Regions from separate parts of the Homo sapiens genome. Here all the other regions are linked to region 2. The links are contacts of gene promoters, found by promoter capture Hi-C in human tissues and cell types (Jung and others, 2019). All regions are on one chromosome and are shown on one strand. The core of a region is centred on a gene start or on the middle of the fragment in contact, and the rest is flanking DNA. Distances in the headings are between cores, read along the strand shown. Region 1 overlaps PCNT (pericentrin). Region 2 holds the start of COL6A1 (collagen type VI alpha 1 chain). Region 3 has its middle 22 kb from the start of SLC19A1. Region 4 holds the start of DIP2A (disco interacting protein 2 homolog A). Region 5 overlaps DIP2A (disco interacting protein 2 homolog A). Region 6 holds the start of LINC01694 (long intergenic non-protein coding RNA 1694). Region 7 overlaps PCNT (pericentrin).

Region 1 (3,202 bases), core at 374-2,873, 460 kb after region 2:
TCTCAGCCGACTTCCAGCTCCGCCACAGACGGCGTCCTCACTGACCCTGACCGCTACTTGATGTTTGGTGCATGTTCATAAAAGGGTATTTTGACTAAGAATATTATAATCTGATCTAATTTAGAGTTTTAGTTAAAGTGATTTATAATTTTTTTTTTTTTTTTTTTTTGAGACCGAGTCTTGCTCTGTTGCCCAGGCTAGAGTGCAGTGGTGCGATCTCAGCTCACTGCAACCTCCACCTCCCAGGTTCAAGCAATTCTCCTGTGTCAGCCTCCCAAGTAGCTGAGATTACAAGTGCCCGCCACCACACATGGCTAATTTTTATATTTTTAGTAGAGATGGGGTTTTGCCATGTTGGCCAGGCTGGTCTCAAAATCCTGACGTGATTCCGCCCACCTCAGCCTCCCAAAGTGCTGGGATTACAGACATGAGCCACCGTGCCCGGCCTAAAGTGACTTATAATTTTCATAATGGTATAGTTGGATAGAGTTATCTTCCGGAATGTCTCATTTTTTTTTCTTTTGTATTTAGGCTATTTTGTTTGTGATTTGCTTTATTTTTTATAACTTTTTAAAAATTATTTTTAAATTTACATACAGTAAAATTTGCCCTTTCCTGGTGTAGTGTCATACAAGTTCACACACACACACATCCCTGTAACCTTCATAAGTAACCACCATTCACAGAGCACACAGCGATGGCCCCCCCAAAAAGAGCAGCAGGCATCTCCGCCTGCCACAGGCCCTGGCTCTCTCCCAGAAAGGTGTGTCAGTGGAACCAGCCCGTCTGGGACCTCCTAAACTGGCTTTTTTCACTTTTTGGGTTTTTTTTCTGAGACAGGGCCTTGCTGCATCTCCCAGGCTGGAGTGCAGTGGAGCAGTCACAGCTCACTTCAGCCTTGACCTCCCAGGTTCAGGGATCCTCCTGCCTCAGCCTCCTGACCTGCAGTGGTGTCAGCAGCAACCTGTGCACGTCCTCCCGTACACTCTTAAGTCATCTCTAAGATCACTTGCAGCACCTCATTCAGTGTAAATGCCACGTAAATAGTTGTCATCCTGTATTGTTTAGGGTGTAGGGGCAAGAAAAGAAGCACACGTTTGGTACAGACACATCGTTTTTTCTGAATATTTTTCACCCACAGTTGGTTGAATCCATGGATGTGGAACCCACAGCTGTCGAGAGTTGACTGTGCTTGTAGTTACCAGTGGTTGGCATTTCTAGGACCGGAGAATATGAGAGTGTTTAAGGCTTAAAGCTTTGAATTTGGGGTGATTTTACAAAGAATTGGTTTTCTGTTTCTGTTAAAATGTACCTTTTTTGCAATCATACTTCAGCAAGTGGCATGTCGTAATTACTCCATGTTAATTCTTTGGCTGATCACAGCACGGCGTAACCTAGGCCCTGCTGAGGGGGTGCTGAAGTTGAGGAGGGGCCAGGTGTGGTGTGGTCAGCCTGGCCTCCCCGCACATGGCCTTCTCCCTCACCTGCCCCCGGCTGCGTCTCTAAGATGCTCTTGTTGACGAGCAGCTCTGTAGACAGCGCTGGCTGTGCTTCCTTACAGAGGTCGGAAAGGTCTGCTTGGAAGCCAGACGAAACGGCTCCACAGAGTTCCCTGAGGCGCCCAGACCCCGGCCGGCTTCCACCAGCTGCCAGCGAGGAAGCACACACCAGCAATGTCAAGGTAGGAACGGTGCCACGAGTATAGAACTTTGGTGCTTTTTTAAGTCCTGGGTTTGCAAATTGCAGGCAAAGCATTTTTGTGACCACAAGGTTCTCGTCTGCCGGGTGTAGCAGTCACATCACTAAAGGAAAGGACGTTCACAGAATAAACTTCGGCTTGAATTTTGTTTTAATTGTGCACAAATACTGAGTTTCTGTGCTTGTTAAGCGTGGAACGTGGAAGGCTTTGACAAAGTCAGCAAATGGCGGCCTCTGCAGCCTGAGGGAGGCCTGGCCCAGGGGCTTGCCGGGATTCGGCCCAAGATCTGCTGCAGTCTCCTGATGGCACACGGTCCCCACCCCGTGACGTCCATCTCATGCCCAGTTTGGACCTTACCTAAGGGGTGAAATGCAAGAAGCTTCATAGGGGCTCATTTGATGATGCTGTGGAGAGGAGCTTGTGGTCCTAGATCTTGTCTGACAAACACAAATTGATCTTCCAACAGCAAGGTTGTTTCTGGCCACAGATACTGTTGGAAGGCCGATGGCTCTGTGATGATTTGATGGGAAAAAACAATCTGACTCTTTGGAAAGAGCAATGGTGTTAATGTGCTTTTGTCAGCAAGACAGTCTTTGTTTCCTATGATAAAATTTTACTGCTTTTTTTCTTTTAGATGGAAAAATTGTACCTGCATTACTTGAGAGCAGAGAGCTTTAGAAAAGCTCTGATTTATCAAAAGAAGTATCTTTTGCTGTTGATTGGTGGATTCCAGGATTCTGAACAAGAAACACTCTCCATGATTGCCCATTTGGGGGTATTTCCTTCCAAAGCAGAACGGAAAATCACATCTCGTCCTTTCACCAGGTTCCGCACGGCCGTCAGGGTGGTCATTGCAATATTAAGGTAAATGCCATGACGTTCAGTCAGTGCGTTCCGCGTCTGTCTCCGTGAGTGGGCAGCACACTGCATGGTTTTTTGGTCATTTTATTCCTTGAAACTCCATAATATGTTCTTTTTAAAGATGAATGGCATTTGAGGCCTTAGAGAAAATACAGATGATGAACTTGTCTTCAAGAAGTCATGTGTATGAATCTCTCACCTTCTAAAACTAAAGATTTAAGGGCACCTTTGTATTACAGAGGAACATCTTGACTTTTAATGGGTTTCGTGCCACAAAGAACGTGCTGAATTTCTAAAACTGTTTTTCCCCCTAAACACTGTGCGGCTGTGCCTGCTCCCTGATGCCACAGAGGTGTTTCCCAAGGCCACGCGCGGGCCTGTCTGGAGTAGCAGATGCAGCAGAGAGCAGCTAGGAATCCCGCTCCTTTCAGAGACCAGGTGCCGAGCCAGTTCAGTCATCGCGGCTGCAGGCTGGGCCAAAGTGGGGTGCAGGCGAGGCCTCCTGGGTTGCTGTACTCTCAGCTTCTCTGGTCCTGGGGCACTTTGTCTCCTCGTCTCTGAGCTCCCCTGACCGTAGGCCTCCACCGTCCATCCTTCCACCCACCCATCTGTCCATCCTGTGTTCATGGGGAGAACACCCTG
Region 2 (3,269 bases), core at 105-2,604:
AGCTCCAGCTTTGGGAAAGCTCTTCTGGGACCTTCTGTGGGCCAGGGATGCATCTGGCCACATCTGGAGCCCACCCCCAGGTGATATCAGGGACAGCCCCTCTCTCCTCTCTCTGTCTCTCTTTCTGTCTCTCTGTCTCTGTCTCTCTGTCTCTGTCTCTCCGTCTCTGTCTGTCTCTCCTCTCTGTCTCTCTCTGTCTCTGTCTCTCTGTCTCTGTCTTTGTCTCTCTCTGTCTCTCCTCTCTCTGTGTCTCTGTCTCTGTCTCTCTCTCTGTCTCTCTCTGTCTGTCTCTCTGTCTCTCTCTGTCTCTGTCTCTCTCTGTCTGTCTCTGTCTCTCCTCTGTCTCTCTGTGTCTGTCTCTCTGTCTCTGTCTTTCTGTCTCTCTCTCACTGTCTCTGTCTCTCTCTGTCTCTCTGTCTCTGTGTCTCTCTGTCTCTGTCTCTCACTGTCTCTCTCTCTGTCTCTGTCTCTCTGTCTCTCTGTCTCTCTGTGTCTCTCTGTCTCTGTCTCTCTGTCTCTGTCTCTCCTCTGTCTCTCTGTGTCTCTCTCTGTCTTTCTGTCTCTCTGTCTCTCTCTGTCTCTGTCTCTCTCTCTGTCTCTGTCTCTCCTCTGTCTGTGTCTCTGTCTGTCTCTCTGTCTCTGTCTCTCTGTCTCTCTCTCACTGTCTCTCTCTGTCTCTCTGTCTCTGTCTCTCTGTCTCCACACACAGCATATATAACAACTATATTGTGAGCAACTTTGTCTTCCCACGGTACAAACTGAAATATCTTTGGCAAATACGTATCCGACTATACTGTGAAGAAATATTGACGTGAAAAAAGAACGCGGAGATCTGATAAAGCAACAATTCAGCTCACGGCGAGGTCCTCTGCAGGAGGCGGTTGGTGGGAAGAGGCGAGTGAGCCTGCCCGTGCGTCCCGCATGGAGACGTCTGGATTGGAAACTACCGAAAGATGTTTCAAGGAACTCTCCCTGGGTGACACGCTGGTTTTCAGACGTTTGATTCAGCTGCTGCAGTTTCCTCCTCCCTGACACGGGAACTGAACTGCAGGCCGCGGCGAGCCAGCCAGGGAAACCGCCTTCTCCCTGGGCTCGGAGCTGCTGCCGGTTCTGGAGGGAGAGACCCCAGCAAGGAGGTGGTGACTCATGGGCCGCTCCTCCCCGCCCCGCCCCGCCCCTCCCCTCCCGCCCCGCCCCTCCCCTCCCGCCCCTCCCCTCTCCTCCCGCCCCTCCCCTCCCCTCCCCTCTCCTCCCGCCCCGCCCCTCCCCTCCCCTCCCGCCCCTCCCCTCCCCTCCCGCCCCTCTCGCCCCGCCCCTCCCCTCCTTGCCCTCCGCTCTCACTCTGGCTGGGAGCAGAAGGCAGCCTCGGTCTCTGGGCGGCGGCGGCGGCCCACTCTGCCCTGGCCGCGCTGTGTGGTGACCGCAGGCCCCAGACATGAGGGCGGCCCGTGCTCTGCTGCCCCTGCTGCTGCAGGCCTGCTGGACAGCCGCGCAGGATGAGCCGGAGACCCCGAGGGCCGTGGCCTTCCAGGGTGAGTGGTGGCTTGGGGTGCAGGCTCCAGACCCCCCGCTCTTTGCTGCCGGCCAGGGCCAGATGCGCGGGGTCCCCTCCCACGCGTGGAACTGCAGACTGGGGGCCTGGAGCCCCTGAACCCCACTCCCCGCTCGGGGCGGCTGCAGCGCCCAGCTCTGCCCCACCGGGCCTTGGCCGGGGCCCCTAGAGGCTCAGCATTCAGCATTCTCAGCGGGGCCGGACCGCAGGCAGCTCGGGAGGGGCTCCCTGGCGAGGGGGAGCTGGTGCGGGGCTGTCTCGGCGCCCCGTGAATCCGTTTGACCCCTCACCTGGCAGTGAGTCCAGACGCACGGCCCCCCCGACCCCCGTTCTAGAAGAAGTCGTGCGCTGCTGGTTCTGAATCCAGCGAGAAACCTTCCCGTGAGGTCTCACTTGTCCGGTCCCGTGCCGGGGACGCCCTGCCCTTCGGGGGAGGTTGTGAAGGTTTCTGACTCCCCTCGAGGCACAGGAGCGGTTTGGGGTCTCTCACTCCACCCCCTCCCCACCGTCCCCACCGAGGGACGTCCTGCTGCCTTTTCCCGGGAGAGCCTCTCCGGGCCCGGGGCTCTGTGCTGCAGGCGCTGGGCTGGCCGGGAGGGCAGGCCCAGCAGAGACTCGGGGAATGGGGCGAGAGCTTGAAGGCCCCTCTCCTCCATCTTCGGCCAGACTGCCCCGTGGACCTGTTCTTTGTGCTGGACACCTCTGAGAGCGTGGCCCTGAGGCTGAAGCCCTACGGGGCCCTCGTGGACAAAGTCAAGTCCTTCACCAAGCGCTTCATCGACAACCTGAGGGACAGGTAGGAGGGACGCCCCGTGACCTTCCTCCTGTGCTTCTGGGCCTCTTGGAGGGAGGGGTGGGGGCCCAGGGGAACACGGGTGCGACGGCCTCAACCTCCTAAGGTTGGGCGAGCGTTGCCCTGACCGGGGCCCCTCCCGGCGCCCTCCAGAGTGAGGCCGGGGCCCTTTCCGGCGCCCTCCAGAGTGAGCTGGTCTGAGCCTCTCCCAGCGCCTTCCAGAGTGAGCTGGTTTGAGACCCTGCTCGCGGGGGTGGCACCTGTTCAGCAGGGCCGAGGTGACAGTGAGGCTGAGATGTAGGGAAGAGAGGCTCCCGCAGGCTGACCGAGAGGGCTCAGCGCACTGGCCCAGACACGCAGTCCTGCCTGGTGCGCGGGAGCCCCTCACTAACCACCTGGACCCTGGTTTGTTCCGTGGGCAGTGAGAGCCTCTACCTGGGTCCTGGATCCCACGTTCTGAAGGTCCCCGACTCGGGAGCCAGGAGGGGTGTCGCTCTGCAGCCCCAGGGCCCCCAGGCTTGGTTCTGGGCTTGGGACACGGCACCCTCTGCTCCACGTTCCTCCATCTGTGCGTGTGGCTGAGGACAGACCGGGGGGAGAGGGGAGTCGGTCCTGTGGGTGCACAGGGCCGCTGAGGGGGGGGCATGTAGAACGGGGCTCCCCCACTGAGACGGGTCCTGGCAGTGGGGACACAGCTTAGCCGGCGTAGGAACCCCCGTCCTCCTTGACCCTGCTGACTGGCCGCTGGGCCGGAGCCTCCCGCCACCAGAAGGGGCACAGTCAGAGGCTGCCGGTAACAGCAGGGTGGACCTTCCAGCCCACACCGTGCCCAGCAGGAGCCATTGGTACCAGGAACCCTGAGCTTAGTGGACATGGCCAGGCCCGTGCGGCAGTGTTTGGGGGGGGGTCTGGCTGTGGATGGCA
Region 3 (3,200 bases), core at 24-2,523, 420 kb before region 2:
GTACGGATCTGTGCAGGTGTGAGAGGCAAATACTCAAGGCCAGGGAAAGACCATCAGAAAGAGAAGCAGAAGTGACCCTTAGAGCTCATGCACAGGCAGGAATGTTGCCTGTTCCGCCAGTCAGAGCAGAGATCTCATGGCCCATGGGACGTGGAGTGGAGCACTCAGAAGGCTTTGCCACAGTAGGGGAGATAAACTCGTTCTAGGCTAAAAACTGTTCTGACCTTGCCTGAAACGTTCAAAGCAAGCCTCGGGAGAAACAAACTGTTTCCATGTAACTTAATTGCATTCCAGAACAAAGCTCAAGAATATTTGTAGGAAGACAAAAATGTCAATTATTTAACAAAGTAAACTCAGAATATCTGGCATGCAATCAAAAATTAGTGGGCATGCAAAAAAGAAAAAGAAAACGTAACCCAAAATGAGGATATAAATTAATCCATAGAAACAGATCTAGAAATGACAAAGAAGGTAGATTTAGCAGAAAAGGACATTAAAACAATTATTGTAACTATATTTTTATGTTCAAAATGGTAAAGAAAAGAGTGAGTATTAGGAGGAGACACATTGAAGATTTAAAAAAAAAAACACAAATCAAACTTCTAGAGATGAAAACTACAACGTCTGAGGTGAAAAGTACACTGGATGGGATCCCCGCAGATTAGACATTGAAGAAGAACAGATGCGTGAACCTGAAGACACAGCAACAGCAATAGAGACTGTACAAAATAAAACACACAGAAAAAAATACTTAAAAAATGGACAGAGCATCAGTGAGCTACAGGACAACTTAAAGTGCCCTAATGCGTGTGTAATATTAAGGCACTTTAAGTTGTAAAACAAGGATTTGAACAAGGTAAACCCACAAATCCAAGAATCTCAGTAAACCCCAAGCACAAGAAATATTAAGAAAACAACACCAAGTCACATTATAATCTAACTGCTCAAAACTTGTGTTAAAGAGAAATTTCTTAAAACCAACTAGAGGGAGGGAAAACTTCACATACAGAGGAATGAAGATAAGGATAAGGATGGATTTCTGATTGGAAACAATGCAAGTGAGAAGACCATGGAGCAACCTCTTTAAAGTGCCAACAGATTCTTTTTCTTTTTTTCTTTTTTCTTTTTTTTTTTTTTTTTTGAGACGGAGTCTTACTCTGTTGCCAGGCTGGAGTGCAGTGGTGCGATCTCGGGTCACTGCAACCTCCGCCTCCCAGGTTCAAGCAATTCTCTTGCCTCAGCCTCCTGAGTAGCTGAGTCTACAGGCATGCTCCACCACGCCTGGCTAACTTTTGTATTTTTAGTAGAGATGGGGTTTCACCATGTTGGCTAAGATGGTCTCAATCTCTTGACTTTGTGATCCACCCGCCTCAGCCTCCCAACGTGCTGGGATTACAGGCATGAGCCACTGCGCCCGGCCGAAAGTACCAACAGATTTTTAAAAAGTGTTAGAATTCTATACCCGAGAAAAGCATCTTTTAAAAATGGAGGTGAAATAGACTTTTTTAGGAATCCAAAGACTGAAAGATTTCATCAACAGTAGACAAATGTCATATGACATGTTAAAGGCAGTCGTCGGACAGAAGGACAATCTGAAGCTGGACAAAGGAATAAAAAGTATTGGAAATGGAAAATATGTGGACGAATATTAAAAACTTACTTTTAAAATATCCTTAAAAGATAACCAACTGCTTAAAACGAAAAGAAAAAACCTAATGATGTATTGTGAGGTTTAAAAATGTGTGAGGTTGGCCAGGTACGGTGGCTCACACCTGTAATCCCAGCACTTTGGGAGGCCGAGACGGGCGGATTGCTTGAGCTCAGGAGTTTAAGACCAGCCTGAGCAATGTAGCAAAACCCCATCTCTACAAAAAATACAAACAATTAGCCGGGCATGGTGGCACATGCCATAGTTCCTGCTACTCGGGAGGTTGAGGTGGGAGGACCTCCTGTGCCCGAGAGGTCAGGGTGGCAGTGAGCCATGATCGTGCCATTGCACTCCACAATCCAGCCTGGATGACAGAGTAAGAAAGACCCTGTCTCAAAAAAAAAAAAAGTGTGAGGTTTAAAAACGTGTGAGTTTTAAAAATGTTTGACAACAGCAAAAAAGGTGTGAGAGGGGATGGAAAGATGCTATTTTAATATCACATTACTGCGTAAGTTAAAGATACATACTATTTATCTTAAAGCTACAAATAAAAGAAAAAACAAGAATTATAGCTAATAAGCCAACAAAGAAGATAAATGGAATTAAAAACACAATGCAAAAGAAGGCAGAAAAAAGAAAAAATAACAGATGGAACAAATATAAGAAGAAAAGTAAGATAATAGATTTAAACCCAATCATATTAATAATCACAGTCATGTTCTAATTGCCCAAACAATTCAACTGGGGCAGAGATTATATGATTAGATAAGAAAGCCAGACTCAACTTTATGTTGCTGACAGGGAAAAACACTTTAAATATAAATATATAAAATTGGCTTAAAATCAAAAGATGGAAAAATATATACCATCGCACTATTCAAAAGATGGCCAGAGTGGCTATTACAATATCAAAGTAGATATCAGATAAGTAACATTGTAAGAAATAAAGAGGATTTTTTATAATAATAAAGGGATTAGTTCATCAAGAGATCTTAACAACCCTAACCATGTACGCACCTAATAAAGCTTCAAAATACATGAAGCAGAAACAGCTAGAATGTAAGGAGAAGTACACAAACCAACAATTACAGTCAGAGAGTTCAACACCTCATTTCAATAACTGATAGAACAAATTGATAGACAACTTAGTAAAGGCAGACAAGACTTGAAGGATACTATCAGCCAAATTAATATTTATCAAATATGTCACCCAGCAACAGGAGAATACACATTCTTTTCATCTGTACACAAACAATTTACCAAAATAGGCCGTATTCTGGGTCATAAAACAATTCCCGGCCGGGTGCGGTGGCTCATGCCTGTAATCTCAGCACTTTGGGAGGCTGAGTTGGGTGGATCACGAGGTCAGGAGATCAAGACCATCCTGGCTAACATGGTGAAACCCCGTCTCTCCTAAAAAAATACAAAAAAAATTAGCCGGGCGTGTGGTGGGCACCTGTAGTCCCAGCTACTGGGGAGGCTGAGGCAGGAGAATGGCATGAACCCGGGAGGTGGAGCTTGCAGTGAGCCAAGATCGCACCACTGCACTCCA
Region 4 (3,317 bases), core at 294-2,793, 480 kb after region 2:
CTCCCAAGCAGCTGGGACCACAGCCGTGGCCACCATGCCCGGCTAATTTTTTGTGTTTTCAGTAGAGATGGGGTTTTGTCATGTTGCCCAAGCTGGTCTTGAACTCCTGAACTCAAGCAATCTTCCCGCCTTGGCCTCCCAAAGTGCTGGGATTACAGGTGTGAGCCACTGTGCCCAGCCTCATCTTTTCTTAGCAGGGATCCAAACTTAGTGGAAGAGTATTGCCTTGTTTGGGTGTTTTGCTATTTTTGGAGTTCAGTCAAACAGGGATGTTAATTCCTGGGCCTGGTTCTTGTCTTTGACCTGCTGCAGTAAATGAAGCTTCTCTATATGTAACGGGACAGATTCACTGGCTTACAACTGTTTGTTGCTTGCCTTCAGCTGACCACTATTCTTAAGAGTCTCGGTTGGCACTAAGCAATAGCTATCCAATCCCCCTTTCCTTCCTTTTATCTACTACGTTCACCATATATGAAATGTCTGATACTTCACCCACTCGTGGATTCCATTTCACTAGTTCACCCTCCTACTTCACCACTGGTGAGTGATGCAGCCTCGAATCCCATCTTCTCACCAGCTTTAATGCTGCAGAATGGTTTCTCCAGAAGCAGACGCTGCGACTGAGTTTGGGGTACGAGGATGTTGACATGGTATCAACACCCGTGAAAGGAAGGGGAAGGAAGCAGGACTGGGCGGAGGAAGAAGGGTATGTAAGTCCCGCAAAGCTTTGGCCAACCTCGTGTGGAGCTCTGGAACGAGAACTGCTGAAGTTCGCCAGACTCGGGCACTCCTGCCTAACTCAGTAACAGGCGGGCGGCATCGGGACACGGACACGCTGCTCAGGCCCCGCCACAGCCACCCTCGCACCGTCAGACACACTCCCACACATTCGGGGAGCAGGGCCTTCAGGACGCCGGCGGCGCCCTCTCAGTCTAGCTCCGCCAGGCCCCTCGTCCGTCCTCCCGCCCTCCAAGGTCACCTCGCGGTCCGACATGGCTGCTGGGGCTCCTTCGGGGCCAACGATGTGTACTTCTAGGGCTGTTTTTTAAAGCAAAGGAGTGAACACAGGTAAAGGCACGAGAAAGGTGCCTCGACGCCACCACGGACTGCGCAGCGTTCGCGATCAGCACAGCCCGAAAGGGAAGACAGCGGTCAACGCGGACGCGCCATGGCGCGGGGACCAAGGAGGAGCCCCGAGAGGGGCGGGGCTGGCCGGAGGGCCGCGCGCGGGGCCACCAGCGGCGCCTAGGGGTCAGCGCCAACGCCCACGGGTTGGTCATCCCCACTTAGGCGCCTCGGGCCGCAACTAAGCAGCCTGCCCGCCTCAAGCCCGCCACCCTCAAGCAGGCCCAGCGCAGAGCCTGTCGGGAGCGGCGCTCTCCCGCCTCTCCCAATGGGAGCCCGGAGCGGCATCGACGCGTCTTCGGGGCCAATGGAAGCGAGGCTCTGGTGTTGCTGGGCGGGGCCGGGAGGGCTGCGCGGGCCCGAGACCCACTGCGCACGCGCGCTCGCTACCCGCCCTTCCCGCCGCGCACGCGCTCCCGTGTAGGGCCGGCCGGGCGCTCAGGAGCGCGCGGGGCAGCGGCGGCGCGGCGGAGCCATCCGCGCTCGTGCCCGCGCGGGTGCGTTGCTGTCCTGGCCGCGCCCCTGTCCCGCCGCCTCCCGCTCCTCGCCTGGCGGATGTAGGTTGTTGGCCTGAGGGGAGCTACGTAGCCGAGGTTTGCGCTGCCGCCGCCAGGCCCGGTCCGGTTCCAGCCTCTGCCCGGACGCTAGCCGGCCTGGCCATGGCTGACCGCGGGTGCCCGCTGGAGGCGGCGCCGCTGCCTGCCGAGGTGCGGGAGAGCCTGGCTGAGCTGGAGCTGGAGCTGTCGGAAGGTGAGCCGGACCCCGCCCTCAACCCCCGCGACCCGCCCTCAGCCCGGTCCCCCGCGCAGCCCCTCACTCCGGGACCCCCGCGCGGCCCCTCACTCCAGGACCCCCGCCCTTCACCCCCGGGACCCCCACGCGGCCTCGCCCCTGGGACCTCTGCCCCTCAACGGGACCCCGGTTCCTCTACCCTGGAACCCGCCCCTCGCCCCGGAGACACCGTTCCTCAACCCTAGGACCCCGCCCCTCATGTGGGACCCCAGCACGACCCCTCGCCCCGAGACCCCGGCCCCTTACCCCCGGGAACTCCCGCCCCTCACCCCCGGGACCTCCTGCCCCTCACCCCCGGAACCCCGCGCGGCCCCTCACCCCGGGGACCCCGCCCTTCACCCTGGGAGCCCCGCGCTGCCCCTCCGGACTCCCGACCCTCAGCCCCGGGACACCCGCGCGGCCCCTCAAACCAGGGACCACTGCCCCGCCTCTCATACAAGGACCCCTCCCCCATACAAGGACTCCTCCCCCCAGGCCCTTCACACCTGGGACCCTTACTCCTCACCCCGGGACGCCTGCCAAACTTCTGGAGACCTTTCCCTATCCCCAGCTGCTCCCCCAATGGGATCCGACCCCAAGGACTGGCTTTGACTAGGTCGTTTGGACAGGTGTGAGAATCTTGAGAGGAATGACCACTTTTGCCCCAAGCTGTGAGCCCCGCTTTTCTCAAGGCTGTAGGTCTGGGCTTGGTCTGGGCTTCACCAGGATGACTGCGCCCGTTGTCCGCAGGCAGCTACTTCCCTTGGAGCTGGGAGCCCTTGCCGCGCGCCTCATACTCTAGGAGCTGCACCCTGTGCCTCATTTTATTATCTATAAAGTGGGGTTATACCAGCACTTTCCATTTTGGATTGTTATGAGGCTAAAATACCTTAATATATGCAAAGCACATAACACTTAGGAGTTGTTAGCCCCCTCATGGAATTTTTTAAAGTAAAAAAAAAAAGTCGTATAAATGGTTGGTTGATAAAAATAGACTGGAGTAATCTGGCTTCAGAGGTGGTGGGTGGCATTTCCCATTTGGATGTTATCCCTTTCAAGGCCTGTGTCCTGATATTCCTTTTGGCTGTCTTTGGGAAAGAGTTAAGTTCTTCTCCAGTGTCAGAAAGGACTTGCAGTCCTTGAAGAAAAGCATGTAATTGATTCTTACTCTGTTTTTGAGATCTAAATGCATTTTCAGCTTTTAGAATCCATTTTTTAAATAATCTTATTATCCTTAATTTAAGTTTCAGATTGATAAGATTTTGCTGGGTCTGGGGTAGTTATTTCTCAAAACATCTAAATAATATGCACTAGCATACAGTAAGTCATTTAATCCTTGCCAACCTTAGGGAGGTAGATGCTGTTGTGATCTTGTTTTACATATAATACAACATGTACTTGCAACTATTTTGAATTCAGCA
Region 5 (3,520 bases), core at 920-3,419, 500 kb after region 2:
CCTAATAGAATATCAAAACTAAAGATTTATACGTATATATTTTTATCCAGGCGTGGTGGCTCACGTCTGTAATCCCAGCACTTTGGGAGGCTGAGGCAGGCAGATCAAGACCAGCCTGGTCAACATGGTGAAACCTTGTCTCTACTAAAAATACAAAAATTAACGGGGCGTGGTGGCAGGCGCCTGTAATCCCAGCTACTTGGGAGGCTGAGACAGGAGAATTGCTTGAACCCAGGAGGGTCAGGTTGCAGTGAGCTGAGATTGCGCCACTGCACTCCAGCCTGGGTGACAGGGTGAGACTCCGCCTAAAATAAAAAAAAAGATTTGTGTGTGTGTGTGTGTGTGTGTGTATTTCTTTTTTTTTTTTTTTCTTGAGTCAGAGTCTTGTCCTGTCGCCCAGGCTGGAGTACAGTGCCACTATCTCGGCTCACTGCAACCTCCGCCTCCCTGGTTCAAGTGATTCTCCTGCCTCAGCCTCCTGAGTAGCTGGGATTACAGGAACGCACCATCACACCCAGCTAATTTTTTTGTTTTGTTTTTTTTTTGGTAGAGGCAGGGTTTTGCCATGTTGGCCAGGCTGGTCACGAATTCCTGACCTCAGGTGATCCACCTGCCTTGGCCTCCCAAAGTGTTGGGATACAGGCGTGAGCCACCACGCCCGGCCATCTTTCACATTTAGATGCGTAATTCACCTGGAATTTAATTTCATGCGTGGTGTGAGGGAAGAGTGATTTCATTTCTATTGCAGTTGGGTAATCAGTTGACTCAGAACATTTGGAAGAGGCTATCCTTCCCCTGCTGCTTCGGACTGATTTCTGCTGTGTTGTTCTACTTGCTTATCTTAGCACCTGCTCCATTCTGTCTTCATATCTGGTAAAGTCTGCCCTTTTAATTTTATTTTGTTTTTCAAGCTTGATTTAGCTAATCTTGGCCCTTTGTATTTCCCTATATACTTTGGAATCAGCTTGTCAATTTCTATGCAAGAAACTTTCAAGAATTTTTTTTTTTTTTGAGAGGGAGTTTCGCTCTTGTTGCCCAGGCTGGAGTGCAATGGCGCGATCCCGGCTCACAGCAACCTCCGCCTCCTGGGTTCAAGCCATTCTCCTGCCTCAGCCTCCCGAGTAGCTGGGATTACAGGCATGTGCCACCATGCTTGGCTAATTTTGTATTTTTAGTAGAGATAGGGTTTCTCCATGTTGGTCAGGCTGGTCTCGAACTCCGGACCTCAGGTGATCTGCCTGCCTCGGCCTCCCAAAGTGCTGGGATTACAGGCGTGAGCCACCACGCCTGGCAAAACTTTCAAGAATTACTCAGGCTGACTCTTGTGATCCACTTGGAGAGAAATTACACTTCACAGTATTGAGTCTTCAGATTCATGAATGTGGTATATCCTTTCATTTCTTTAGGTCTTTAATTTATCTCAGTAATGTTTTTATAATGTTGTTAGTTTCTGGGTAGTGGTCTTGCACACCTTTCATTAAATTTATTCCTGGATTTGAGATACAGTATTTTTCAGTCCTAGAATTTATGTTTTTTTTTTTAAATTCACAATCCTGCTTTTTAATTCCCTAAACATATTGATTATGGTTATTCTAAAGTTCCATTTTCTATAGCTTTCTATTATTGTTTCTCATGGATTTTAGTCATAGTTTCTTGCTGCCATATGTGCCTAATTACTTCTGATCAAATGCCAGACATTGTCTATATAGTGATCATTTGTGACCACAAAGGGCTTACTTTTGCATCTGGTAGGTAGATAGGTTGGGAATAGATGCAGTCCAAGATCACTTTAATCTATATAGAGAGAAAGTGATTTGAAACTGGCTCCAGTCCTTATGAGTGCTGCTCTATTTTTAGTTCATACCCAAGGTGTGGTCCTTCTGAGTCCCAACAAACAACCTGGGATGCTTTCCAGGGCACCTCGTCCGTGATGAGCTCCTGCCTCTCTGAGTCTGTCCAAGTTCCACTCAGTTCAGCTACTTGGTGATTACTTTTTGACTTCACTTGGCCCTCAGTTCTTCACTTCTGTAATGTCTTCAGATTTAAAGAAAAACTTTAATGTGATCTTTTTAGTTGTTCCCATTGGAAGAGTTGGTCTGAGTGCTATAATTTTGTCAGTGCCATAAATGGAGTTCCTATGTGTGTGTATGTATTCAGTTTAATGAACATATTTTTCATATTTTATTAAAAACTGAGATAAAATATTTACTACACATTTAAAAAGCCCGCTTTTAATTACAAATGAATGAGACAGTGGACATTCAAACACTGCTGTGGAAGCATATCTATACTCTTCAGCGTTAAGCATAATAATTTGCTTATTTTTTTTTAAGGTCTCATTCTGCTATTCAAGCTGGAGTGCAGTGGTGCGATCATAGCTCACCGCAGCCTCGAACTCCTGGGCTCAAGCAATCTTCTCACCTCAGCCTCCCTAGTAGCTTAGGACTATAGGCATGTGCCACCACAGCCAGCTAATTGGTTTTTTTTCTTTTTTTGTAGAGACAGGGTCTCTTTATGTTGCCCAAGGTGGCTTCTAACTCTTGGGCTCAAGCAGTCCTCCCACCTTGGCCTCCCAAAGTGCTGGGATTACAGATGTGAGCCACCATGCTTGGCTGCATAAATAATTTAAATTGCAGTCAGATAGGCTCTACTTTTGTGTATTAGATCTGTATATTTAAGACCCCTGTGTTTGGAAACTTTAAGGCTTGGAAAGTGAAATCTCTACGTGCTTATATTAAGAACGACTGTTACCAGTGAATGGTGCCACCGTGCAAAATATTACTCTTCACAGATTTTCCTCACCTTTTGTTCTGTGTCACGAGCTTGGAGACTGCCTGTATTTTTTTTTTTTTTTGTGTGGCATCTGTTTTCAAGTTTTATTATGGTCAGGTATTGTATTAGTCTGTTCTCATGCTGCTAACAAACACGTAACCGAGACTTGGTAATTTATAAAGGAAAGAGGTTTAATGGACACACAGTTCCACATGGCTGGGGAGGCCTCACAATCATGGCAGAAGATGAAGAAAGCAAAGGGACGTCCTACGTGGTGGCAGGCAAGAGGGCGTGTGCAGGGGAACTGTCCTTTTATAAAACCATCAGATCTTGTGAGACTTACTATCCGGAGAACAGCATGGGGAAAAACCTGCCCCCGTGATTCAGTTACCTCCCACTGGGTCCCTCCCATGACACGTGGGGATTATTACAATTCAAAGTGAGATTTGAGTGGGGAGGACACAGAGCCAGACCATATCAGGTGTGGATCATCCCTCATTTTATTGTTTCCTCCTGCTCTGTGTCGGCACCTCCAGTAGGACCTGTCTAGTCGTGGCAGCTGTGGGCTTTCCCAGCTGCCATGGCACAGAGACCTTGCCTTGGGATCCTGGGTAAGCTTGTGTGGCCCAAGTTGGGACCTAGTGGACTCTTTGGACCCGTTCTTTGGCAGCAAGGGAAAGGCCAATACCTTTCCAAAGGAATAAACACTGGCAGCTGTGTCCAGCTCACTTGGGTCCAAGGTCTCTGG
Region 6 (3,452 bases), core at 211-2,710, 390 kb before region 2:
CCACACACACACACCTCATAGACACACAAACCATGCACACTATGCACAAACCACACACACGCATACATACCCACAACACACCACATACACACCATGCATACCACACCCACACTCCACATAGACACACAAACCACGCACACATACATACACACAACACACCATATGCACAAATCACGCACCAGCCACACACACAACAGGCCACATAGACACACACAACACGCACACCACACACACAAAACACTCCACATCGACACACAACTCACGCACAAACCACACACACACAACATGCCACATAGGCACACACACCACGCACACCACACACACACAAAACACTCCATGTCGACACACAAATCACACACAAACCACACACACAAAACACTCCACATAGACACACATACCATGCACACCACCCACACACAAAAAAACACACCACATAGACGTGTTAGGTAGTTAGACACACATCAGCAGCTGGGAGAGGGTAAAAAGGAGAACAGAGAAGCTGTCATTAAGCCCCTGGCCCACCTAAGTTCAGCCCCGAGCCCGCCCTAACTCCACCATGAGGGACGGAGTTTGAAGTGAAACCTGTGGCCAGCATGTCCTGTGGAAGGGGAAACCAGGGCACAGGTAGAAATCCCTAGAGCAGCATGTGCCCAGTGACCTAAAACTGTAATAACATTTACATGTGGCCCCCCCACACTGGGCTTTTCTTAATGAATTATGGGTAAAAATATGCACAGTTTAATTTTAGCTGTGTCACCATAAGCTGCCAAATGACATCAGCCTGTCACTCAGCCCAAACCTCAGCTACTTCTCACACCCCACAGAAGCACCTTGAGCTCTGTAACCAGGTGCTGATGTCACTTCTCAGAAATCAGCCTGCACACCCTCTGAGACAGTATTACTGGAAATTTCAATCAACCTTGTTTTAAGCTTACATTTTGGTGTTTGCAGTTCTTTGCTCACTGTCACAAGAACCCAGATTGCTGGTTCAGAGCTCTGGCTCTGTGGATCTTGTCGGTTAAAAAATCCATCCGAACACAGAATTCTCGGTAACACACACACAATACACCAGGTGGACATACAACACACACATGCACAAGGATGTTCACGATGACAGTGCTTGAAATAGAGGAAAACAATGCGTCCACATTTCCGTCAGTCAACCGTGGCCCGCCTATGGCCACCCGTCCATAGGGTCTGGATGAGGTCAAACGGGGGCCCCGTCAACAGCACAAGAAAATCATCAGCCAATTTTGCTTGGGAACAAGGGTGCAAAAATCTAAACTTACAGAAATCACTACACAAATCTGACAGTGATTTAAAGATAACACCCGGTGATCAGATAGGAGTGCAGGAGTGCAGAGCGGGCTGACAGGGAAACCTGCGCCTGTTGAGGCAGGAAAATTGGGTCTGGAGGCAGGGAGCATAAGGCAGTTCACACTTCAGCTACCACAGGAAATATCCTCTCCATAGGGCATGGGCCAAGTAAATGACTTTGTAACTTCACTTCATCCTCTCCAGTTACATAGGGTGTACCCCCAAGAAGCCCCATGGCGCCATCACTCCACGGCCCCATCACCCCACGGCCCCGTCGCCCCACGGCCTCGTCGCCCCACAGCCCCGTCGCCCCACGGTCCCATCACCCCATGGCCCCGTCATTTCAGCACTGGCGGCTGCTCTGCCCTGGGATGCGCCTGTCACGTGCAGTGATTTAAACATCAGTGAGGTGATTGATTCAAATACTGCGTACTCTTGCTAGTATTTTCCTTGCATGCTGATATGGTTTGGCTGTGTCCCCACCTAAATCCCAACTTGAATTGTATCTCCCAGAATTCCCACGTGTTGTGGGAGGGACCCAGGGGGAGGTAATTGAATCACGGGGACCGGTCTTTCCTGTGCTATTCTCGCCAGAGTGAATAAATCTCACGAGATCTGATGGGCCTATCAGGGGTTTCTGCTTTTGCTTCTTCCTCATTTTCTCTTGCTGCCGCCATGATTCTGAGGCCTCCCCAGCCATGTGGAACTGTAAGTCCAATTAAACCTTTTTTTCTTCCCAATCTCGGGTATGTCTTTGTCAGCGGCATGAAAAGGGACTAATACACATGCTTTATTGGTGACCAGGAGATGTTTTAAATTTTTCTATATGATTGTGGATTTCTCTTCTTCTTTCTTGGACTCTGCAACTTTGTTTTCTGTAGTTTGAGGCTGGCATCTTCCCGTGGGCTGGGCCCCATGCCACCAGCTGACCCTGGTCTGCTGAGCTCCTTGCCCGTGGTTCCTCTGCTTGGTGTTAATGCAGCCACCCCAGCTTTCCAGACCTCCCTTTCCATTTATCTTTCTGTGGCCTTACATTGAGGGTGTGTCTCCTGCAGGATCCAGTGTATCTTTATCTTTGAATTGAACTTTCTGGTTCTTTTGTTTTGATTCCATTATCTGCGTTTGAATTCTGGCATTATGAATTGTTTTCTGTTTTTCCTACTTGTTCCCTGTTCCTTCTTCTCCTCGTGGCTTCGATTATTTTTTATTCCATGTTTATCCTCTCTTAGCCTGCCAGTTATGAATTACTGTTCATTCAGTAGTTATCCATGTTAAAGTCCAGTGTAAATTCTTCCTGCTATCTCTTACCAGACCACCAAAGATTTACATCACCCCTTTATTCCATCCCACCCTTTGTTCTGTTGTTCTTATGTATTTTAACTCTACTTGCATGTCAAACTCTGGAAATCACTATTGTTATTATTTTCTTTTTCATTTTTTCGGGTCTTGCTCTGTCACCCAGGCTGGAGTGCAGTGGCACCGTCACAGGTCACTGCAGTCTCCAACTCCCAGGCTCTACCAATCCTCCCACCTCAGCCTCCCCAGTAGCCAGTACTACAGGCATACACAACCATGCAGTCTAATTTTTTAAAATTTTTGGTAGAGACAGCGTCTTGCTGTGTTGCCCAGGCTGGTCTCAAACTCCTGGGCTCAAGTGATCCTCCTGCCTCTGCCTCCTAAAGTGCTGAAATTGCAGGTGTGAGCCCCCGTGCCGGACACATTATCATTATTTTCTACCATGTATGCGTCTCTTTATTCACTTCCCTTTCCCGGGTCTGCGTTCCTTCCTTTATCCCCAAGCTCCCACCCCACCCTGGGGGGTCATTTCCTTTCCACCCTAAGAGCCCCTCATCATGGGTGCCGGTCTCTGGGTGGTCACTCCCCGGCCCGTCCGGGGTCACCTCCCTCCCACTCCCCTGCCTGCCTGGGGCCACCTCCCTCCACTCCACTGCTCATCCAGGGTCACCTTCCTCCACTCCCTTGCCTGCCTGGGGTCACCTCCCTCCCACTCCCCTGCCTGCCTGGGGTCACCTCCCTCCCACTCCCCTGCCTGCCTGGGGCCACCTCCCTCCACTCCTCTGCAGCTTCTCTGCATTGCTTCTTCTCCTTCACCTTTTTTGGTTGATTTTCATCTT
Region 7 (3,032 bases), core at 331-2,830, 370 kb after region 2:
TTTTTGTTTTTCTTGCAGCTGAGCTGAAGGAGAAGTTACAATCAGAAATGGAGAAAAACGCCCAGATAGTAAAGGTACCCGGGATCGATTCTAAAATGCACGCCTCTGTGTATGTTGTTTTTCCTTTCTCGCCAGGTCCCATGAGAACGCTCCTCACCTTGATTCAGACAGAAGCCAGTCGAGGCTTTATTAGAATATGCTGGTTGAAAGTGTATTGCGTTCTTTGTTTATTTATATCATTTGTATTTGTCAGAAAACTTGTTTTGTTGTTTCACATTGACTTGCATAACACAAAGGCACTGCTCGGCCCCTCCATGCTGTCTTCTGAGTGGCCCCCATGGCCTGCCCCTGAGCTGTGTTCTGGGACACAGCCTCTGCCCTCGTGGATGTGGCAGTTCCCTGCAGTGCATGGGGTGTGGGTGCTGGGGTGCCGGGGAGAATACCACACAGGGAGGAGGTTTTGGGTGGGGTGGGTTGCACCTGCTGTGGGTGGCCTCACTGGGGACCACAGGTAGCAGTGCCCCGTCATTGCCAGGCCCTCCGCTAGAGGGCTGAGCTGTCAGCCATGCTGAGTGTGGAGGCCCTTCCTGAGTCAGGCATCTGGGCAGCTCTCAGGCCCTTGGCAGACGATGGGTGTTAGTCCAGGCTTGGGGTTGTGTTCCGGTCACCTGCTCCTCTGACGCAGGCAGTGAGACCCATTTCTCAGAACACTTGGGACAGAGCCCAGCCCTTGGGTGGAGGTTGGCAAAGTTGCCATTGGCCCCTGGGACTTATAGGGAGATGTATTACTAACGCTTTGAGGGTGACTGTGTGGATTAGGCCTTGCGTGCAGAGGCTCGTCTGTTTCGGGGTGGGTGGTCCTTGTGCAGAGGCTGGTCTGTTTCAGGGTAGGTGGTCCTCTCGCTTTGTGCAGATGCAGGTCTGTTTTGGGGTGGATGGTCCCTGTGCAGAGGCTGGTCTGTTTCAGGGTGGGTTGTCCCTGTGCAGAGGCTGGTCTGTTTCAGGGTGGGTGGTCCTCGTGTGCAGATGGCAGTCTGTTTTGTGGTGGGTGGTCCTTGCTCACTTTTCCTCAACTGCTTGCCTCCTGGATGCTTCTGCTTTTCTGTCCTGCCAGCATTCAGGGGAGAGACTGGGTGTAAGGCCTGTCAGGACAGTTTAGTTGGGGGCCATGACTGCCCATTCTTTTTTTTCTTTGAGACAGGGTCTCATTCTGCCTCCCAGGCTGGAGTGCAGTGGCACAATCACAGCTCACTGCAGTCTTGACCTCCTGGGCTCAATTGATCCTCCTGCCTCAGCCTCCCGAGTAGCTGGGACTATAGTTGCATGCCACCACATCCCACTAATTTTTGTATTTTTTTTTTTGTAGAGATGGGGTCTCACTATGTTGCCCGGGCTGGTCTGTAACCCTAACTCCTGGGCTCAGGCGATCTGCCTGCCTCAGCCTCTCAAAGTGCTGGGATTAGAGGCATGAGCCACGTTGCCTGGCCTGCTCAGAGGTTTTGACTGTGTGATTTAAATTTCTTTAGCACAGATAATCAACTATTGAGTTTAATTTTTTTTTCTTTTAAATTAGACCCTGAAGGAAGATTGGGAATCTGAAAAAGATTTATGTTTAGAAAATCTACGCAAAGAACTGTCTGCAAAGCATCAATCAGAAATGGAGGATTTACAAAACCAGTTTCAGAAAGAATTGGCAGAACAGAGAGCTGAGTTGGAGAAGATTTTTCAAGACAAAAACCAGGCTGAACGTAAGTAATGAAAATGAGCAAGTTTGGAGTGGGACTGAATTTTCCTAGGTAGTACTGGAAGGAATGTCGTTCATGTCACCATGCGTCATTGCGCACGTTTCCTACCTTCTAAATGCTGGATGGCCCCATGCACGTGTGACACGCTGGTGGCCGTCATGGGTCACAGGTCTCTCAGGGTCCTTAAACCTTCCTGATCTTTGTTTCAGAGATTTTTCTTGGCATGTTCAGTTGCTAAATTATTACAAAGCAGCAGCTTTGTGGTTGTTCACTTTTCATACTCCAGGGTTGTGTGTTCCAGCTTGACCCTCATGGTGGGTGGCATGGGTAGGCGATGTCCCCTGGTGCTATCAGGCATGTGAGGCTCAAACGAGGGGCCCGGGGGCGCCCAGGATGGGGCTCTGGGTGGCAGCGCTCTGGGTGCACCATTATTGTCACTGAGGTCGCTGTTGAGGAGAGTGATGTCTTGTAAACCAAGTGCCATTGCTTTACCTTTCTAGGGGCCCTTAGGAACCTGGAGAGTCATCATCAAGCAGCCATTGAGAAGTTACGTGAAGACCTGCAGTCCGAGCACGGCCGGTGTTTAGAAGACTTGGAGTTCAAGTTCAAAGAGAGCGAGAAAGAAAAACAGCTGGAGGTGGGCAGCAGCTTCGTTATTTAATTACTTGGTATATTAGGGAAGTTTTAACAGATTTTGGAATTGGGCTATTTCGTATTGTGTTATTTGCTAAAACTTAAGTTCTAAATTTAAAGAGACTGGCTGGGAACAGTGGTTCACGCCTGTAACTCTATCACTTTGGGAGGCCAAGGTGGGCAGATCATGAGCTCAGGAGTTTGAGACAAAAATTAGCCAGGCATGGTGGTGGGCATCTGTAATCCCAGCTACTCGGGAGGCTGAGGCACGAGAATCGCTTGAACCTAGGAGGTGGAGGTTGCAGTGAGCTGAGATCTCACCACTGCACTCCATCCTGGGCAACAGCGAGCCTCCGTCTCAAAAGCAAATAAATAAAATAAAATGAAATAAAAAAATAAATAGAGTGTTAGTGGTGAATAAAAGTGTAAGGATATAGTCTCTGAGACTGATTTAATAATTACGTTCAATCTTGTACTTAGGAATGCATGTTCTTTGCAGGCGTCCCTGAGACAGTTACACAAATCGCAGACACTAGGTAGGAGTGTAAGGCCACATCCTCTAACCGTGATCCAGTACACACGAGATTCCTAGGAAAAGTTAACAAGCATTTCTTTCTGCTGTGTGTATTCAAGATGCTTCTCTAATGAAGCACT

Evidence for each region. Contacts are between HindIII fragments. The study calls those that stand out against the background at their distance.
Region 1: a fragment that was not itself captured here is called in contact with the fragment with the promoter of COL6A1 in region 2 in 1 of the 25 tissues and cell types used here (mesendoderm cells).
Region 3: a fragment that was not itself captured here is called in contact with the fragment with the promoter of COL6A1 in region 2 in 1 of the 25 tissues and cell types used here (IMR-90 fibroblasts).
Region 4: the fragment with the promoter of DIP2A here is called in contact with the fragment with the promoter of COL6A1 in region 2 in 2 of the 25 tissues and cell types used here (IMR-90 fibroblasts and lymphoblastoid cells).
Region 5: a contact is called between a fragment that was not itself captured here and the fragment with the promoter of COL6A1 in region 2, in 1 of the 25 tissues and cell types used here (lymphoblastoid cells).
Region 6: a fragment that was not itself captured here is called in contact with the fragment with the promoter of COL6A1 in region 2 in 2 of the 25 tissues and cell types used here (H1 embryonic stem cells and lymphoblastoid cells).
Region 7: a contact is called between a fragment that was not itself captured here and the fragment with the promoter of COL6A1 in region 2, in 3 of the 25 tissues and cell types used here (H1 embryonic stem cells, lymphoblastoid cells and mesenchymal stem cells).

Annotation. Positions count from the first base shown.
Region 1 is chr21:46,438,522-46,441,723 of GRCh38, forward strand. It overlaps PCNT (pericentrin), which reads left to right. Exons shown (of 47, transcript NM_006031.6): 42 at 1,562-1,681; 43 at 2,334-2,563. Among named protein-coding and RNA genes, the nearest start is that of DIP2A, 19 kb to the right of the region's middle. The HindIII fragment of the contact is 3,958 bases long and covers 1-3,202 here.
Region 2 is chr21:45,980,416-45,983,684 of GRCh38, forward strand. COL6A1 (collagen type VI alpha 1 chain) reads left to right here and starts at 1,355. Exons shown (of 35, transcript NM_001848.3): 1 at 1,355-1,532; 2 at 2,219-2,348. The coding sequence starts at 1,436. It overlaps LOC105372841 (a long non-coding RNA gene), which reads left to right. Exons shown (of 3, transcript XR_937803.3): 3 at 875-1,151. RefSeq lists enhancers at 1,113-1,975, 1,976-2,836. The HindIII fragment of the contact is 42,283 bases long and covers 1-3,269 here.
Region 3 is chr21:45,562,950-45,566,149 of GRCh38, forward strand. It overlaps a transcript of SLC19A1 not described here. Among named protein-coding and RNA genes, the nearest start is that of SLC19A1, 22 kb to the left of the region's middle. The HindIII fragment of the contact is 6,356 bases long and covers 1-3,200 here.
Region 4 is chr21:46,457,348-46,460,664 of GRCh38, forward strand. DIP2A (disco interacting protein 2 homolog A) reads left to right here and starts at 1,544. Exons shown (of 38, transcript NM_015151.4): 1 at 1,544-1,875. The coding sequence starts at 1,785. It overlaps LOC124905046 (a long non-coding RNA gene), which reads right to left and starts at 1,366. Exons shown (of 2, transcript XR_007067915.1): 1 at 980-1,366. RefSeq lists enhancers at 758-897, 2,668-2,737 and silencers at 1,138-1,687, 1,878-1,947. The HindIII fragment of the contact is 5,308 bases long and covers 524-3,317 here.
Region 5 is chr21:46,477,219-46,480,738 of GRCh38, forward strand. The region is part of intron 1 of DIP2A (disco interacting protein 2 homolog A); the gene reads left to right. Among named protein-coding and RNA genes, the nearest start is that of DIP2A-IT1, 17 kb to the left of the region's middle. The HindIII fragment of the contact is 3,471 bases long and covers 435-3,520 here.
Region 6 is chr21:45,591,684-45,595,135 of GRCh38, forward strand. It overlaps LINC01694 (long intergenic non-protein coding RNA 1694), which reads left to right and starts at 1,971. Exons shown (of 2, transcript NR_146912.1): 1 at 1,971-2,025. The region is part of intron 1 of LOC107985485 (a long non-coding RNA gene); the gene reads right to left. The HindIII fragment of the contact is 4,545 bases long and covers 1-3,452 here.
Region 7 is chr21:46,347,439-46,350,470 of GRCh38, forward strand. It overlaps PCNT (pericentrin), which reads left to right. Exons shown (of 47, transcript NM_006031.6): 6 at 19-74; 7 at 1,574-1,748; 8 at 2,246-2,382. Among named protein-coding and RNA genes, the nearest start is that of PCNT, 25 kb to the left of the region's middle. The HindIII fragment of the contact is 7,749 bases long and covers 1-3,032 here.